Regions from separate parts of the Homo sapiens genome. Here region 1 is linked to region 2. Evidence: promoter capture Hi-C in 16 types of primary human blood cells and fetal thymus (Javierre and others, 2016). All regions are on one chromosome and are shown on one strand. Each heading gives the region's core, a stretch centred on a gene start or on the middle of the fragment in contact. The rest is flanking DNA. Distances are from core to core; before and after follow the strand shown. Region 1 overlaps DMD (dystrophin). Region 2 holds the start of GK (glycerol kinase).

Region 1 (5,297 bases), core at 2,381-4,880, 590 kb before region 2:
TTGTTGCCTGCTATCTTTCTACCTGTTGTATAAGAAATCCTTTGAAAAAAGCCTATGTCAGCTTCACAAAAGATGTTACTGTGTTTTGGGGGAAATAAAATTGGGAAGTAATAAAACAGTTAATAAATGTTACAAGACCGTGTACACCAACTTAAATAAGATTAAGGTCAAACGTATGGTACCTTATATAGGTAGGAAGAGCAGTATTAATTAGAATAATTAGGGAGAGTTGTTTGGAGAGTGGAAAAAAACATTGTTCTAGGAAGAAATTTTGTAATACTCAGGTAAAGTAAAATGTAGGGCCAAGATATTCCAGATAGTGTAGCAGCATAAACAAAGGTATGAAAGACTGGCTTGTTTGCGAGTCAGTGAAGACATTGTTCTCTGAGAATCTACTCCAGATTTTTTTTTTTTTTTTTTTTTTTTTTTTTGCTTTTTGAGACAGGGTCTCACTTTGTCGCCCAGGCTGGGGTGCAGTGGTGCGAACATGGCTCACTGGTGCCACAACCTCCTGGGCTCAAGTGATTCTCCTGCCTCAGCCCCCCAGGCAGCTGGGACTACAGGCACACACCGCCATACCTGGCTAATTTTTGTATTTTTGGTAGAGACAGGGTTTTGCCATGTTATCCAGGCTGTTCTCAACTCTTGAGCTCAAGCCATCTGCCCATCTCGGCTTCCTAAAGTGCTGGGATTACAAGAATGAGCCACCGCGCCTGGCCACTCCAGATTTTTAAAAGGGAAATCTGATTCAGTGCCCCTGGGGTGAACTAAGTGCCTTAAATTATAGAGTGAGAAATTTACATTGCATTTGATTGGCAATGGGAAAAACATTGTTAAATCTTCAGAAAAGAGAAATAATGAAGTCCGTCTTCTGTGTTTTGGAATAGGAATTTGGTGGGTGAGTTTAAGGACAGTTAGAGAGGGGAGAGATTATTTCGTTTTGTTTTGAGGTAATTGACATGATGAGGGTCTTAGGATAGCAATGGGGGAAGGAAAAGGGAACGTGACTCCAGAGGTTTTTCTTAACAAGGTAGAATTGCCAGAAGGTAATCACAGATTGGACAGGTTTTAAAGAAAAAGGGAGTTATATGTCTTCAAAATTTGAAGGCGTGGTGACACAGAGAATGGTGATACCATTGAGGAAAAGAGGAAATTGCAAACTGAGCGGAGCAACAGGGAATAGATATGAATTTGATTGAATTACATACTTATGGGTTTATTTACAATTTCTCTTCTTAGAAAAATTTATTTTTGGTGGCTCATATAAATGTATGTGCTGCCATACCATAAGCATATATTTCTCATTAATCCTTTCAAAAACCCTGTAAAAGATATTTGTATCTCCATTGTGCAGATGAGGCTCAGAGAAAATAGGTAATTTTCTCACATTGCAAAGCAGGGATTTACGTGTACTTTTAACTCCTAAACCAGCGATTTAGCCCCTCAGCTATACTTTCTTCCTGAGAGGGGACAGTGGCATTTTGAAGAGGAAATACTCTAAAGCCATTTGAAAAGGGGAACCGAAGAAAGAGTTTGGTCCACAGCATGATAAAAATATTACTTGCACTTTTATTATACTTTATAACAAGAAGTACAGGGGCAGAGAAAGGTTCCTAACTTTTACTGAGCAAGTATATATCCAAGATACATCTCCTCTTTGGAGCTTTTGAGATACACTATCTCTCTTAGTTTTGCAACAGCCCTAGGAATAGGTACTATTACTGTTCCCTTTAAAAATGAACAAAAAAAAAATGAAGCTTAGGAAAGTTAAGGTTACTAGACCAAGCTTATTGGGAGACCATAGTGATGAAGAGGAAGGGCTTTAGGGTCAAATGGATTTGAATTTTACTTCTTAGGCCTTTGGTTTCCTTATTTATAAAATGGGATTGAAATAATGATATCACAGTTGAAGGTAATTATATGAGAATTTATGTTATTTATTGCAAACATAGGGTAAGCACCTAATAAATGATAACCTGAGAATTTATGTTATTTATTGCAAACATAGGGTAAGCACCTAATAAATGATAACCATTATTACTATTATTTTACAGCAAAGACATAAATAGAGCCCATTAAGTTTTCTTCTCTACCCAGTAGTTTTTCCATTGTACAATAGTACTCTCCTGAAGGACAGCGGGTGAAGCTAAGAATTTGGAAGAAATCCCAGATAGAGAAATCTTGAAAAGAAGATAGATAGATTTAATACTCAATCATTAAAAAAAGTGCACATGACTTTAAGAAATCAAACATTGTAAGAGGATAGTATTGAAAAGTAAGTCTCCAACCACTCTTGGTATCAATCCCCTAATTTTACTTCCTAGAGACAATTAACAGTATAGTTTTTATGTTTGCTTCTGTAAATATTTTTGCATATACAAACATACACATAAAAATATGCCCATTTTTGCACATTGAGAGTATAATAGGCACAATGTTCTGTTCTTTGATGCTATTACCTTTTACATAATTAACCTGGAGTTTTTTTTTTCCTGTAGCGCAATAGACTGACAGATGGTGAATGAAAACTTGCACTATGGAGAGTTATGTCAGTGTTTTAATAAGACAGGAACCCAGAAATAAATGTACGAAGTTTAACATCAGCATCTCGTGGCCTTTAAGTCAAATTGGACAACCATTCAAAGCTTCATAAATGCTAACTGCTTCTCATGACTTCAGAAGCAAACAAAAAAATCATTATTCAAATGGGAAATTAAGCTGATCATCAGAAGTACAGAGAGGATGTCCTTTCTTAAAGGCGGCACGTCTAAGGGAGTGTCTGAGACCTGGCTTCTTCATTCAGGATGGAGGCTGCTGCTACTCTTTAAAAGAAATGTTCACATCCTTACTTCCTGACTTCCTTCTATAACACAGTCTGCTTCACAACACTATGACTTTATATGTCAGAGCGGGTTAGGAGGAGCTGAATCTTAAAAATTTAAGAAGATGCCAAGGTCTAGAAACCACTCTTAACAGGGGAAAATTAGACCCTGCTTGCTTTTGGGAAAATTTGTTTTCCAGTCAGATGTTTGTCAAGGTTAAAGAAATTCACGGGCCCTCTGTTCGAATTGGGAGCAATTGGGAGCCCTTAAGCTGAATGAGTAGACTTGAAGTCCCACTTAGAATGAGCCTTTATATTTTTGTTCTGTGGCTTGCTCAGGGAAGGGATACACACTTGGGGAGAAAAAGACTTGGATTCTAGTTGATGTTTTTCTCCTAGCTGACTAGGGAATTCAGAACAAGTTACTAAGAGCTTTCTAGTCCTTAGTTCTCTCATTTGGAAAATGAAAATTTTAAATTAGAGATTCTATTTCTAAGGCACCATGTATTTCATTTTCTTAATAAAAAGTATATATATTCCCCTAAAGAATACTCATAAGAAAAAGGTAGAGTTAAAATTTCCCAAATTATTTAATTCCTGGTTGCCCAGTAACCATTAAATTTCTCAGCAGTCAGGCAAGAACCACATTCCCACCTTGAGACAAGATTTAGGCCTTTCCAAACTTACCCTCGGGCTCTGTTCCAAGTTTATTTGTAAGTCAGTTGCATACAATTTGGAATGAAATGTGTTATAAATGGTGGTTAGGTCCCTAAGTCACAGAATCTTAGTTAACCCTCAGAGTGCCTGATATACTGCACCATGTAAATAGAAAGCAGCTGTATGTTTCTATGGGAGCAAAAAACTTTTGTAGGAAAAATGGTAGAAACTCGTACTGCAGGTGTTGATTATTCAGCAAACTTCTCTAGATAAGGAGGACTGGGAACTTCATCATTATTGGTCTAGTTACATTCCTGGTCACTCCCTCATCCCATTGACTGGTCAGTTTCCCTCCCTGTGGTCCTTGTGCAAGGGTTTCTGCCTCACCCCATACCCTCTGCTCCTTGCCCGGTATCATGGTTCTTCTGAGGGTACTACTGCCCATTCACCCTTGTGCTAATTAGGATTACACTGGGTAAGGAAAGACATTTGTTCTGTAGCGGAGAAGCGGGGAAGGCCATCAGAGGCTTTGAGTGTCAGAAAGATTTGGTCTTGAATGCAGGCTCTGGGATGCAACCGTAGGGAAGTTACCAAACATTTGTGAGCCTCATTTTATCTTTAACAAAGCTGATAATACAGAACTCAGGGCCTTGTAAGGACTCGATGGTATCAGGTACACACGACATTTGCCCTTGAGTGCTCAGCGAATGTTAGTATTCCTTCTGCCATCGGCCTGTCACTTCCGTTTTTCTCTTTGGCTCTACAGGGAATACTTGCATACAAAAAGAGCTGAAGTAAGAGTCACCTACATCTTAGGAAAAAAGGGCTGCTTTAGGTTTATCCTCAAGTAGTTTTGTCCAGGATTCTGAGGAGAATAAAAGCTGGGTCAGATCCAGTGTGTTGAAAAGAAAGCTGAGGTGAGAAGTGAGAGAAACAGAGAGGCAGAGAAAGGGGGAATGAGCCCTGTCTGCTATGAAGTAGGAGGCAATCCAAAAGACAAGGAATCCGTGGTCATTGCCACTGAGAGGAGAAAGAAGGCAAACTCACTCCTGTGACTTCAGGGCCATCCATGAGGTGGGCAGAGGAACTCAGAGTCTGCCCGATTCTTGGATTGAATCTTCAAATTGGTAAAGCTTTATATCAAGCAACTCCCAAATGCAGCATAGTTTTGAGGTGATAAAGAAGAGTCTTTTCAAGGCTGGGCACAATAGTTCACGCCTGTAATCTCAGCACTTTGGGAGGCCAAGGCAGGCAGATCACTTGAGGTCGGGAGTTCGAGACCAGCCTGGCCAGCATGGTGAAACCTCATCTCTACTAAAAATATGAAAATTAGCTGGGCGTGGTGGTGGGCACCTGTAATACCAGCTACTTGGGAGGCTGAGGCACAAGCATCACTTGAACCCAGGAGGCAGAGGTTGCAGTGAGCCGAGATCATGCCACTGCATTCCAGCCTGGGCGAGAGAATGAGACTCCGTCTAAAAAAAATAAAAATAAAATAAAAAGAGTATTTTCCCGGAGTACCGGTAATATTGGTTCCAGATTCAAATGTATTGTCCAGATACACAGAGGGTAAACAGGAACGCTTCAGGCATCCTTTATTAAAAGCACCTCAGTCTATGTCAGAGGGCCAGGCAGTCCATTATCTAATGAAAATCTCCTACCATTGATTTATTTTATCATAACTGCAGCTGCTAAGTAATTTTGTTTAAGGAATGATTTACATATTAGTGTCTTCAGCAGGATCTCATCATTAGCATCTAGTCTCCAGAAAAGTTAACACATAACAGTGAAAAGAAAACATTCTCTATCACATGCTTCT
Region 2 (4,895 bases), core at 2,197-4,696:
AAAAAAATAAAATAAAATAAAAAATAATTCAGTTAACTTATTAAAGAGAAATAAAAATCTACTCAATAAACATGTATAAAACACTCTCTGAACAGTCTTTAAGTGCTGTTCATCTTTGTATTTCATAAAACATCTTGGTCAACATGACAAATAGCTTAAAAGGAGGACCCTGCTCCCAAGTACAGCAGGTATACGATTATAATACAAGGGGGAAGGTAATAAGAGCTATTAATAGAAGTATTTTTAAAAGTGCTGTAGGAAGGGGGGGGAATTCTGAATAACGGTTTGAGGAAGACTTACACTAAAAGGTGGCAGTTGAGCCACTATTTAGAGGTAGAGAAGCGGATATGTGGGATAGAGGTGGAGGCATTTCCCTGGGATGAAAGAGCACAGATAAAGCCTTTTCTCCTTATGGGAGAAAGCTAATATTGCTAACAGAGAAAAAAGAAGAAGAAAGCTTGCAGAGATTATTGGTCTCAGGAAAGTCAAGTTAAATATGCAAATTTAATGAATAATAGGAAATTACTTAAATATCTTTAATTTTATAAGCTTCCTTATGACAGTTCTTATCCACTGTATTCTTTCCTGAGAGGTAAGCAATTATTTTTCAGTCATAATTACAACGTGGAGTAATATGACTGGAATAACTCCCGGGAATCATCTTGTGATTGAAGCACTTATTCAGCAAATCTTTTATCTGCATTTTGCAGGGAGTGGTTTAGCAATCTCTCTCCTTATAAACAAAGGAAAAAACACCTTGCTAAACCATTCCTAAGTTTTTCACTACTTCACACAGGATCTCTACGGTTTTTTTATTTGCCTCTAGAGCATGCTTTCATAGTTGTTTCTCAAGGAGAGGACAATTTTACTGATCAACTTTTATAAAATCATTCTCTAAGCAGGATAAGAATCTTCTGAATTTGCATCTTAGCTTACATGCAATGAGACGAGGCCTCACAGAACCCAGTAAACAGGAGCCAATTTTTGAAGGCTCATGTTGTTCATGTTACAGACTGAACAATTAATTGTGGTAATATGAAGTTGATCAAGTTCTTCTTCATTGATGTAGAAAGATGTCTTTTAGGCAACAAAACCTGAGGGACCAAGAACAACCTGTAGTGAATAAAGAAGATTGCTGGGCTACATGGACAGCAATAATGAACAGTCAAAAAGAAGGCATGGACAGTTCAAGCTGACTCCTAAAGGAAGCCTACAAAGTTATGAAATATTTTACCCATTTTCATATTGAGCAAAGGCTGTATAAACTTGAGAACATCTGCCATGCTTGGTTTGGCCCCCACAGTGCTTTATAAACTAATTGCCAACATTTAAGAATTGAAAGATTTCATTGAAAACTCTAGACTACCTGCTTTTAATCTGACGATCTGGCAGCACTGGGCTTGTGTTCCTGCTTGGCAGCTACTAGCTGTCCCCTTGACCTGGATATCTCTCTAGTCTGCCTTCCCCCTTCTACCTGCCTGGTCCCTGCAGGCATTTGTGTGGGCAATTCTTGAATATGGCTTTAAACATCAACCCACAGTTAGTTGGCACATGTCTTAATGGTCTTTCTTAAGTTGGGAAGATGATGATCGTGTATATTATGTATTAATCAAATCCAGTTAAGCAAACTTTCTTATGATTCAGGATTACTCTATAAACATTTCTATGAATATAAGACAAAGTGAAACCTGCCCTGGGTGATCAAAAGATAAACAGTGCAAGAGACAGTGGAACTATGCTTGGCAGCTCAAACCAGGGTAAGTCATTAAATAAGATTCAAACCAAAATTAGACTGAAAGCTTCTCACTTTAGACAAAAAAAGATATGTCAGGATCAAAGCACAAATGCAGTTTTTAGTCAAGTGCCAGCTCTGACAGAACTTTGAAAAAATATATACATTGTATGTATAATGCCTATGTATAAATATACACATATGTGTATATATGTACAGATATATACATACTAAATAACACAGGAAAACATGATTTGCGGTAAAGTGAAGAGCTAAATAATCATTAAATATTTACATCAACTTGCCAAGTTAGTCAAATATCCATTGAAAGCATGGGCTTTTATCAGCAGGCATTCATTTCAATTACTTTTATTTATTTTTTATTTATTTTTATTTTTTTGAGACAGAGTCTCGCTCTGTTGGCTAGGCTGGATTGCCCAGGCTGGAGTGCAGTGGTGTGATCTCTGCTCACTGCAACCTCCGCCTCCCGGGTCCAAGTGATTCTCCTGCCTCAGCCTCCCGGGTAAGTAGGATTACAGGCGCCCGCCACCACGCCCAGCTAATTTTTGTTATGCCAGGTTGGCCAGGCTGGTCTCGAACTCCTGACCTTAGGTAATCCACCCGCCTCAGCCTCCCAAACTGTTGGGATTACACGTGTAAGCCACCGCGCCCGGCCTCAATTACTTTTAAATTATCTTACTGAACTCTGTGCTAGGTCACTTTAAGAGCAAGTTTACTAATTGCACAAAAATTAATCAGCAGTCACTTAAATAGCAATCTTTTGTGGTAAAACTGTGCTGTCACACATGGTAAATAAAAAGAGAAACAGAATTTCCGTGTCGCATTATGCTGTGAAGCACAGTAAGGACAATCATTTGTTTGTAATGGGCAAAGTCTCAGAACTGAAATTTGCGAGTCTTCGGAATTAAATAAAGATTATGGCAAAACCAGTGTAGTGTGACTGTTTCCTAATTTGTTCTGCCACCCTCCCCAGTATTCAACCCTCTGCAATTTTTATGGGAGAGGATGACAACGCATCATCACTCCAATACTTTATTCGTTCTACTGCTGGAAAGGACGCTGTGTTAGCTACCACAGCCGTGACACAGCTTTCCCCCCATCCAAGGACGTCCTGTGTCTCGCAGGCCAAATGTTCCTGGGGAAGACCGCGGTAGCCGTCAATGTGGCCACCTGTCCCCTACTGCAAGCGGGCCGCTCTGCGCGGATGCTCGGAGAGTCCCTGCTCCCTTTGGGGGAAGAGTCACCCCATTAGTAGGTGACCCAGCTCCGCCACCAAAACTGCGACTGTTCAACTCGGCCATGGGGGTCATGAGAGGCCGAGGTCCCCCAGGCCTGGCTGGGGCATCCCCAGTGTGGCAGGTCCCGTTCCGGCCTCCCTCCTTGCCCAGCGGCCGGGGCACCGGGCCGGAGAGATGCGGGATGGGGACACAACAGCCACCCCCTCCGTCCCCCGACTCCCGCCCCGGCTCAGCGCCTCTTCACATGTCACCCCGGGCTCACCAAAAAGCGCGTCGAACTGGTGCCCTGGTCCACCGCCCCCACCAATGGCCCCAAAACTGCCTTCTTTGAGGCTGCCATGAAACCAGCTTCAGGTCGGCCGGCGATTGCGGCCGGTTTCCTGGGTGACGGCGGCGGGAGGGGGAGGGGCAGGTGACGAGTCCAGAGATCGAGGCCGCGCGCGTCCGCTGAACGCTCGGACCGCGCTCGAGGCGGCCCCTTTACCCGCGCGCAGCCTTCTCACCCCGCCCCTCCGGCCCAGGCCCCGCCCCCCACCGCGTACCCCCAAGGCTCCAGGGGCGTGTCAGGGGGGGTGGGGGTGGGCGCTGTCACCTGGGCTGGCCAATCAGCAAACGCAAAAGAGCCGAACGCTCGGACAGGCAGAGGGCGATGAGACGTCACGGGGGCGGGGCCTGGGCGCGGTGGAGGCGGCGGCCCGCGCAGTAGGTCACGTGGGGGCCCGGCGAGCGGACAGCAGAGCCATCCAGCTGCATGGCATGGGGCGGAGACGAGTACTGCCCTTTGGCAGGCAGCGCTCCTGGCCGGCGAAAAGAGCGCACTTCCACTAGTGTCCTGGGGCTCGCCTCCATAGGGGTCTCAAAGTGTGTAGAACTGCTTGTTCCCTCCAGTGGGCTGTGCAGAGTCGTGCAGCGACGTGAGTCGCTGTGTGGACCTACCCGGCCCGGCCTTCCCGCGTTTCCCACGCCCCGCCCACCTCCCTGCATCTGGCCCCTGGTAATCGTAATCATTCCTTTGGCTGGGATTGACCCCATATAGGGTCACCTCAAGGAGCAACGCGAATCCTTCACCGTTGCAAGCTTTTCAGGGACAAGAAACGCGGAAGTTCTTTCGGTTTAGCATTTAAGGAAAGCACCCAAAATCAACCTCCCCAAGTTCCTCTATCGACCATTCAGGCAGAAGGCGCCCGGCACCACTCCGTCCTGACGCGCCCTTGCTCCTCGTTTGGCCTCACTCTGCGGTCCCCTCCCCCACACGCCATTTCCTCTCCCTCCATTAACTGCTTTGGATGGCAGGGGACAGAAAAGGGACTCTCCCTTGACCTTGAATTTACCTTGCCCGGATCCTTCTGGATCCTGTGTTCTAAGGGCTTTCAAACTTGGAACCAAGACCCACACTGTGAAACAGTTTACAAAACAAACCCAGGCTCCAGTGTGTGTGGGCGGGGAGCACATTTGTAGTTACAATTGTTACACATGTAAATACATGTTATATACATCTAATATACATTTATGTATGTATAGAAAAACTTTCCAAAACAATATTTGTCCTTCCACAGTATGCATTCTGTATTTTTATTCTATGGCATATCATTTTTTTTTAATGCTGATTGAAAATCACTAAATTGCTTTTGTAACCCACCATGCTCTCTATCAATTTTAAAAGCACTCCGCTATACCCACTGTCATTTCTTTCCATCCCTTTCCCAAATCTCTGTGTTCTGGAACATCATTTCTTTTCCTTTTTTTTTTTTTTCCTTTCTTACCTTGCTCTACACCACGTCACTTGTCCATCTCTGTTTGTATAGTTTTACCACACATGATCTGAAAGCAAATTTTCCTAAACACCGTCTAGACCTCACATTCTAATGTTCCAGATGAAGCCTGCTTATGGACATACTAGATTT

Evidence for each region. The method cuts DNA at HindIII sites, captures the fragments that hold promoters and counts their contacts. A CHiCAGO score of 5 or more calls a contact.
Region 1: a fragment that was not itself captured here is called in contact with the fragment with the promoter of GK in region 2 in 1 of 17 cell types (total B cells); the score reaches 5.1 in total B cells.

The regions. Positions count from the first base shown.
Region 1 is chrX:31,237,397-31,242,693 of GRCh38, reverse strand. The region is part of intron 63 of DMD (dystrophin); the gene reads left to right. Among named protein-coding and RNA genes, the nearest start is that of FTHL17, 170 kb to the right of the region's middle. The HindIII fragment of the contact is 1,966 bases long and covers 2,648-4,613 here.
Region 2 is chrX:30,651,974-30,656,868 of GRCh38, reverse strand. GK (glycerol kinase) reads right to left here and starts at 3,446. Exons shown (of 21, transcript NM_001205019.2): 1 at 3,254-3,446. The coding sequence starts at 3,331. RefSeq lists a silencer at 3,357-3,776. The HindIII fragment of the contact is 2,269 bases long and covers 1,802-4,070 here.